3 separate regions of the Homo sapiens genome follow, and regions 2 and 3 are each linked to region 1. Evidence: promoter capture Hi-C in 16 types of primary human blood cells and fetal thymus (Javierre and others, 2016). All regions are on one chromosome and are shown on one strand. Each heading gives the region's core, a stretch centred on a gene start or on the middle of the fragment in contact. The rest is flanking DNA. Distances are from core to core; before and after follow the strand shown. Region 1 holds the start of LINC03068 (long intergenic non-protein coding RNA 3068). Region 2 overlaps PAOX (polyamine oxidase). Region 3 has its middle 8.9 kb from the start of MIR202HG.

Region 1 (2,776 bases), core at 200-2,699:
GCAGGAGAATGGCGTGAACCCGGGAGGCGGAGCTTGCAGTGAGCCGAGATCACGCCACTGCACTCCAGCCTGGGCGACAGAGCGAGACTCCGTCTCCAAAATAAATAAATAAATAAAATAAAATAAAATAAAAAGTTGCAGTGTCAGCAATGAGTTAGCTCTTTAATGGGGGCTTTTTTAAATGAATATTTCTCAGCTGTTGGTGAGCTCAGCTGAGGGAGGGCGGGCGCCACGGGTCCCTGACTCAGACCTGACTGTGGGGCTGGGACACGACTGCCCCTAGTGGGAGCAAGGCCCAACGGTTGGGGGGTGCCCAGCGCCCAGCCAGCAGCTGGGGTGTCTGTGGGGGCTCCCCCATCGCCCTCCCCTCCCCCTTCCCTTCCTTCCCTCTCCTCTCAACCCCCACTCCCCTCACACCTTCCCCTCCCCCTCACTCCTCTCCCCTCTCCTCAGGGCTCCCTGGCTTCCTGCCTCACCCTTCCCCTCCCCCCACTCCCCTTCCTCAGGGCTCCCTCCCCTCACTCCCTCCCCACTCACTCCCTCTCCCCTTCCTCAGGGCTCCCCGCCTCACTCCCTCCCTGCTCACTCCCCTCCCCTTCCTCAGGGCTCCCCACCCCCCCACTCCTCCTCCCCTCTCCTCAGGGCTCCCCCCCTCACTCCCACTCACTCTCCTCCCCTCTCCTCAGGGCTCCCTCCCTCCTCACTCCCTCCCCGCTCACTCCCCTCCCCTTCCTCAGGGCTCCCTCCCCCCTCACTCCCTCCCCCGCTCGCTCACTCCCTCTCGCCTCTCCTCAGGGCTCCCCGGCTTCCTGCCTCTCTGAATTCCTCCTCCAGACCCTCAAGGCTCCCTGCTCATTCCCTCTGGGGTCCTGAGGTCTCCAAGGGCCACTCTGGCTTCCCCCCTGCAGACCCACCCTCCTAGGGGAACAGGGTGACCCCACACAGACACTGATGGGACAAGAGAACCAGCCCTGCAGAAAGCCTCCAGGTGAGGCTGACAGTGCTGGTCCTGTGACGGGGAAGCAGGTGAGAGCCATCTCTGGCCTCAAGGCTGATCAGCAGCCCCCAAGGTGTCCTCTGCAGAGAGGGCCAGCCTCAGGCCTGCCACCCCGTAGACCACAGGGACCTGTCCTGAGATTCCTCCATTTCTGAGCACCAGCCTAGGAAATGATGGAGGGTCTGGCCCCCAGGCCCAGACCCCCAGGCCCCCTGCCCCCGTCTAGGTCCCCAGGTACTTGCAGAAAAGAAGGGGTGAGCACAGCCTTCTGTAAGGGGGCGCCCGAGTCCTGGCCAAGGTGGCCGCCCACCCTGGGGCTCCAAGGTCCAGGCAGCCACCTCTTCGGTCTCTGCCCTTAATGTGGGGCAGAGTGGCAGGTCAGAGCCCCGGCCCTGGCCCCGGCCCCAGCCCCAGCTCCTCCTCAGCCACAGGGGCATCTCCAATTCCTGAAATAATTCAGTTCCCTCTCCTGGGCACCTCTAGAGCCCAGCTGGGCCCAGGGTGTGTTCTGCAGTTGTGGGGGTGGGGGGGAGGATTTTGCAACCCTACCCTCTCTGCAGGGTACCTCCGGTGGCTCTGGCCTCTGGGCCCCATGCTGTGCCAGACACACAGAGAGGCTCAGCCAGTTATTTCCAAGAGGCCAGGCAGGCAGGAGAGGCCCAGGATCTGCCAGGACTGGGAAGGGAGGCAGGAGGCTTCTCTGGGTATAAAGCAGCTGAAATGTGGAGTTTCCTCCCAGGAGCTGAGAGGTAGCTGCAGGGCGAGCCCTGGGGGAAGTGTGCAGCCGCTGGAGCTCCGTCCTGGGCAGGGGTGGTCACGGCTTGAGGATGGCAAGGGCTGATGCCTTGTTTGCTTTTAAAATTGTTGCTATTTGCTGTAGTTCCCCTGTTATTCCTAAACTCTCAGGAAGCACCTACTGGCCTCAAGGTAGTCTCGCTTATGGGGCTGGGGATGAAGAAGAGTGGGGTGTGCAGGTGGGCAGAGCTCCAGCGGCAGGAGGCTGAGGGCGGGCTGGGGAGTAGCAGCAGGGGATGGGCACGAGGCCCCTTCGGTCCTCCTGCAGCTGTTTTAATGTGGCGTTTTGGAAAGAGCCGCACCCCGTGGGTGCCTATGGGAAGGAGGCGTCTTAGTCACATGCCCCTAACGATTGCGGCGTTTCTCTACAGCGTGTCCATGGGCCCAGTGCCTGGCGTGTCCTCCCTGGGAGCTTGCTGGACGCATGACCAGGATTCTGGGAGGGCAGAGGACAGGTGGGTCCTGGTGGTAGGTCAGCTGCTGAGTTTCCCTATGACGTTTGTTCCGCTGGTGCCCAGAGCCCCTTCAAGGTGTCCATCATCAGGGGAGAAGTGGCGCCACAAACTGCCTTTTAACCCTGGGGTCCTGCCAAGAGGTCTGGGGTGTCCTGGGGCCTGTGGCCTGGGCTGCAAGTGCAGCCAGTTCCCTCAGGGCATGGCCACCAGCCCTGGGCTCCCGTGCCCGGGTTTCCCTGCCTGCCTGGCTGGTCAGAGGAGGGAGTCCCTCTATCCACTCTGCCCCACATTAAGGGGAGAGACTGAAGAGGTGGCTGCCTGGACTGTGGAGCCCCAGGGTGGGCGGCCACCTTGGCCAGGACTCGGGCGCCCCCTTACAGAAGGCTGTGCTCACCCCTTCTTTTCTGCAAGTACCTGGGGACCTAGACGGGGGCAGGGGATGCCCAAAAGGGCCTAGACACCTTCCATGGCAGCCGCCATCACAGGGTCTGTGGGAGGGCGTGTCCTCCCTTCCGCAGGCCTGGTGGGC
Region 2 (2,776 bases), core at 189-2,688, 940 kb after region 1:
ATTAACATACCACTGATCTCAGAAAAGTCTTTCAGGATTGGGAAGCTGTTATGCTGTTGGTGGCAGAAACAAGCTTTTCTAAAATTGCAGTTTTTGCTTGAGAGCTTAAACTTTGTCATTGTCTATAAATACTATTTGTTAGTTGTTTTCCTGTGATAGAGACACTTTGCTCATTTTCAAGAAAATGTCACCAAATACCACACCATGATTTGTCTGACTGGTGCTCTCCTGAGTTCTGAGCCTGTCTGTGAAAGACGCACCAGCCCCGCCTGGAATAGCGTGTGCTAGGTGAGTCCTCCACGGCCACCGTGCACCACGCGCAGCAGGAGTGTTCTATGCGGATCCCGCTTCTCCACGCAGATTATTATTATTTTTTGAGATGGAGTCTTACTCTGTCGCCCAGGCTGGAGAGCAGTGGCGCGATCTTGGCTCACCGCAACCTCCACCTCCCGGGTTCATGCCATTCTCCTGCCTCAACCTGCCGAGTAGCTGGGACTACAGGTGCCCGCCACCACGCCTGGCTAATTTTTGTATTTTTATTAGACAGGGCTTTACCATATTGACCAGGCTGGTCTCGAACTCCTGACCTCGTGATCCGCCCGCCTTGGCCTCCCAAAGTGCTGGGATTACAGGCCTGAGCCACTGTGCCTGGCCCTCCACGCAGATTATTAAAAAGACATGAACTCGAGGATCAAGATTTAATAAAATTAGTAACTTTTACTGCCTTTGATCAAGGACATTCTCAAGTGAAAGCAGCATTTTTATTTATTTTTTAATATATATATTTTAATTTTTATATTCAGAGGCAGGGATATACGTGCAGGTTTGTTATGTAGCTAACCGTGTATCATGGGGGCTTGTTGTACAGATTAGTTCTATCACCCAGGAATTAAACCTAGTACCCATTAGTTATTTTTCCTGCTCCTCTCCCTCCTCCCATCCTCCACTCTCCCATAGGCCCCAGTGTGTGTTCTCATCATTTAGCTCCCACTTGAAAGGGAAAACATGTGCTGTCTGCTTTTCTGTTCCTGTGTTAGTTTGCTAAGGATAATGGCCTCCAGCTCCATCCATGTCCCTGCAAAGGACATGATCTCGTTCTTTGACGGCTGCAAAAAGCAGCATTTTGTAACCCTCATGTGCAGTGGTGGGAACGCCTGTAGGCGCATGTGGATCCTGTTGCTGCCTGATTCTGCTAAGGGACGGTTTACCTGCCCTGGCTCTTGCTCAGGTGCAAATGTCGGCGTGGTGGAAACAGCAAATGCTGTCTTAGCGTCTGAAGATGGCTGTGACCTTGAGGGTCCCTGGCAGGGCCTTCGGACCCCCAGGACTTTGCCGCCCACACTCTGCGAACTGCTGCCTGAGGGACGCTCTGTGGGGTGGCTCTTTGTGCCTCTGGGGCCCCTGCTCCATCAGTGGTTCCTTGCTGAGAAACGCGGGCGGAGAGCTGGGCTGGACACTGTCATCCCGGGGCTCTCTTTCTCCATGCAGGTCTGGTCATCCCAGGGCTCTCTTTCTCCATGCAGGTCTGGTCATCCCAGGGCTCTCTTTCTCCATGCAGGTCTGGTCATCCCAGGGCTCTCTTTCTCCATGCAGGTCTGTCCACGTTCTCTGTGGGTTCATTGCCGGACTTGAGTCTGAGTTCATGGAGACTCTGTCGGATGAAGAAGTACTTCTGTGTCTCACCCAAGTGCTCCGGAGAGTGACAGGTAGGTACTCACCACACACGCTGGTTCCTGCCTCTGCTCGTTACTGGTTGATCTCTAAACAGAAACTAGACTTTGCAGAACAGAGAAAAACTAAATTTGGCTGACTCTGTACATCTCCAGGGACCATCCTTCCTCATGTTAGTGGGGTCAGTAACAGTTCTTACCTCCGAGGAACTGAAATGACTTTGCAAACACTTCCTACTTCTGCCACCAAAATAAATGCCGTTGTCCTTGATCAGATTTTTACAGAGGAGGAACCCAAGGCTCGGAAACAGTAGCTGCTGCTGTCACAGCTCCCGGGTCCCGGCCCGCTGCTGTCGGGTCAGAGGCCCCCGGGTCCCAGCCCACTGCTCTCGGGTCAGAGGCGGCAGGAAGAGCCTCTCCTGACACACTCTGCTGCTCACTTTTCTTCCTGCATAGCATCTTTCACGTTAAACTGCTCAATCTTTAAAAATGACAAAAACAGTTGCAGACCTGTGGGTGAGAGTTCTCGGTTAACATGCAGTGTCTCTGTGGCTCAGGAAACCCACGGCTCCCCGCGCCCAAGAGCGTCCTGCGGTCTCGCTGGCACAGCGCCCCGTACACTAGGGGGTCCTACAGCTACGTGGCCGTGGGCAGTACTGGGGGCGACCTGGACCTGCTGGCTCAGCCCCTCCCTGCAGACGGCGCCGGCGCCCAGGTATGTGGCGTGCCCCAGTCGGGGGGCGTGGGTCCCGCTGCAGAGGCCCCCGCCGAGTCTGGGCGCTGCAGGAGCACCAGCCAGTGGCGGGTGGGCTGGGATCCCAGACTCGGAAGCCATTTTCTTTTTGAAACTAAGAATAATTTTTAAATGTACTGTTTTTGTGAGAATTATACACACACAGCTTAAAAAGTCAGAGAATTCTGCAGTGCTAACAAAAGAAAATAAAACCAAAATGGCAGGTGGAGCCCCTTTTGCCCTTCTCAGACGGTGCTCCCAGCTGATTCTCATCGCTAAGTTTACTGCATCTCTAAAAACATGTTTCTGCTACCACGTTTTGAGATACATTTCCTGTGCAAAATGTCAAACATACTAAAGTAGGGAGAACCTT
Region 3 (2,776 bases), core at 78-2,577, 810 kb after region 1:
CTGACCCTCAGCAGCCCCAGTTAGGCTGGCCTCAGTTGGGTCTCTGCGTGTTCCTCTGGGAGCCACAAAAAGGCAGGTGAACTCGGCTCCACACTCCGCACCCAGGTCCAGCTGCCGGCACCGCTTGGTGGCCACCCAGGGCGAGGGTGGGATTACCCAGGATGCACAGCCCCTCTGCCCCGCGGTCCCGCCGCCCACCCTCCTTGACACCCCGCCACCCCTGCTTGGGCAGCCACGGGGAGCTGTTGGAGGGTGGAGTTCAGCACAGAAGGAGACAAAGACCTCCAGGGACAGATGGGGTGGGGGCCACCCTGCCAGGGCACTCTGGCCTCTGGACACCCCCATCAACCCTCCCCGGTCACATGGCTCTGTTTTTCCTGGCGAGGGCGTCGCGTGGATGGTGGGTGAGGCCCACATGCTGGGGGTCAGCGGTGCACACGATTCAGCCACGTCCACAGCTTTTCTTTATTTCAGGGTCTCACTCTGTGGCCCAGGCTGGAGTACAGGGGTGCAATCTCGACTCACTGCAGCCTCCACCTCCCAGGCCCAAGCGATCCTCCCACCTCAGCCTCCCAAGTAGAGGGGACTACGGGCACCATGCCGGGCCAAGTTTTGTATTTTTTGTAGAGACGGGATTTGGCTGTGTTGCCCAGGCTGGTCGTGAACTCCTGAGCTCAGGTGATCCGCCCACCTCGGCCTCTCAAAGTGCTGGGTTTACAGGCATGAGCCACCGCACCTGGCCTTCAGTGGCTCTCTGAGGAAGTTATATATATTTGTTAAACATACGTGTCCTTCTCAGAATCTGTGAGAAGCGCAGATACAATTGTCAACAGATTCCAGAAACACGGGGAGCAGCAGAGCTTTGCCGCCGCCTCTCTCCAGCAAGCTTTGAACAGCCATTGTTTTCATTTATTCCTGCTTGTAAAACGACACATTGTTATGATGGAGAATTGTGAGTACTGCAGAAAAGAAATAAGTTTTGCCACCAAAGGCGATCACTGTGGATCATGCCGGTTCCTGCACACCTGTGGGGTGCTCTGAGCGTGGACTCCCCACGCGAGCCGTCCAGACGTGCTCAGGGTGGCCTCCCCTGCTTACTCCTTTGTGCTTTCATTGCTAATAATTTTAGTCAGTCGTGTCTGCTCTACTAATTTACTATTTGAAGTTATTTACAGCTTGATCTAAAGAAGCTGGCCAGGCGCAGTGGCTCACACCTGTAATCCCAGCACTGTGGGAAGCAGAGGCAGGAGGATCACTTGAGCCCAGGAGTTCAAGACCAGCCTGGGCAACACAGTGAGACCCCCATTGCTACAAAAAATGAAAAGAATTACGCAAGGCGCAGTGGCTGACGCCTGTAATCCCAACAGTTTGGGAGGTAGAGGCGGGCGGATCACCTGAGGTCAGGAGTTTGAGAGCAGCCTGGCCAATATGGTGAAACCCCGTCTCTACTAAAATACAAAAATTAGCCGGGCGTGGTGGCGGGCGCCTGTAATCTCAGCTACTTGGGAGGCTGAGGCAGGAGAATCGTTTCAACCCAGGAGGTGGAGGTTGCAGTGAGCTGAGATTGTGCCACTACACTCTAGTCTGGGCAACAGAGTGAGACCCCTGTCTCAAAAAAAAAAAAAAAAAAAAAGGAAAAGAAAAGAATTAGCTGGGCGTGGTGGCACGTGCCGGAGGCTGAGGTGGGAGAACGGCTCCAGCTGCAGTGAGCTGTTCTCCGGCCTGGGCAGCAGAGCCAGATCTGTCTCAAAAATAAAAAACAAAAAACAGAAGCTTTAAGAGATTTTTAAATTCATTTTTACTTTTTTTCTCCTTCATCTACCCAAGATTGTACTCCGTGAGGGGGTTTTTGAAGTAAATTTCATGACAGCACATTATTCAGCAGTGAGTTTCGGACCATATGTTCCCATTTTTACAACTTTTGTGCACCCTAGGGTGTTTTCCCCTAGGAAATTGTTGTTATATTTCACACATGCAAAAATAAACGCCAGGTGATGTGAGGGGCACCCACACCCACCTTCCCGCTGAGAAATGCAGGCCGCCCCCAAGGGGAGCCCTCATCCTGCAGGTTTCCTCCCGAGTCCTGGAATTCTAAAATGCGCTCCTTGCACCTGGGACTCTTCCTGCCAGCTCCACTGGGGAAAGCTCCTCTCCACCTCCCCTGCTCCCTCCGGGCCTCTCACGGCTCCCCCCGCCCCTCCTCTGCCCCAGGGCCTGTGCTCCTACATCCCGGCAAGCCGCAGCCCCGACACTTCCTCCTAATTTCCTGACACTCCCCACTCCCTGGCGGGACGTTTTACTCCTTGCTCTCCTTCCCACTGGAGGGCGCGCGCTTTCTAGCTGGCCGCGTGGGCAGGCAGAGGACCAGGTGCAGGCGGGCGCCAGAGGACAGAAGGTGGAAGTCAAGCGGTGTCTTGGCCGTCCAAGGTCCCAGCACAGGCACTCAGAACCCCTGAGCCCAGGGAGCTCCCAAGGGTCTCACTCTCCTCTGCGGTCTTTGCTGGCCGAGGGCAAGGCCGGGTGAGGACGGAGAGAAGCAGCTCCTCCCCACCACACACCCAGAGCTGGGAGGGGCCAGGATTCAGCACCCTCTAGGGGTGGGCACGGCAGACGCGGTGGGGACCTGGCGCTGAGGTCCTGGCTCCCACTCCAGCGTGGCCTGGTGGCTTCTCCCCGGTTGGGGTACCCTGCACAGGGGTTGTGGTGCCTCCCAAGGGCCAGCCCCGCCCTGACAACCTCTCCTCCAGCCAGGATGGGGTCCATACTCCATCGAGAG

The links. Contacts are between HindIII fragments. The CHiCAGO score rates a contact against its expected background, and 5 or more counts as called.
Region 2: a contact is called between a fragment that was not itself captured here and the fragment with the promoter of LINC03068 in region 1, in 1 of 17 cell types (naive CD8 T cells). The highest score is 6.4, in naive CD8 T cells.
Region 3: a fragment that was not itself captured here is called in contact with the fragment with the promoter of LINC03068 in region 1 in 1 of 17 cell types (neutrophils); the score reaches 7.0 in neutrophils.

What each region holds. Positions count from the first base shown.
Region 1 is chr10:132,443,533-132,446,308 of GRCh38, forward strand. It overlaps LINC03068 (long intergenic non-protein coding RNA 3068), which reads right to left and starts at 1,450. Exons shown (of 3, transcript NR_184030.1): 1 at 1,240-1,450. It overlaps LINC02870 (long intergenic non-protein coding RNA 2870), which reads left to right and starts at 1,657. Exons shown (of 3, transcript NR_149317.1): 1 at 1,657-1,746; 2 at 2,164-2,247. RefSeq lists silencers at 197-246, 347-396. The HindIII fragment of the contact is 13,459 bases long and covers 1-2,776 here.
Region 2 is chr10:133,387,363-133,390,138 of GRCh38, forward strand. It overlaps PAOX (polyamine oxidase), which reads left to right. Exons shown (of 7, transcript NM_152911.4): 5 at 1,594-1,706; 6 at 2,228-2,385. Among named protein-coding and RNA genes, the nearest start is that of MTG1, 5.4 kb to the right of the region's middle. RefSeq lists silencers at 1,149-1,306, 1,563-1,857, 2,447-2,526 and an enhancer at 1,267-1,396. The HindIII fragment of the contact is 2,734 bases long and covers 72-2,776 here.
Region 3 is chr10:133,255,368-133,258,143 of GRCh38, forward strand. No RefSeq gene overlaps it. Among named protein-coding and RNA genes, the nearest start is that of MIR202HG, 8.9 kb to the left of the region's middle. RefSeq lists an enhancer at 2,671-2,776. The HindIII fragment of the contact is 887 bases long and covers 885-1,771 here.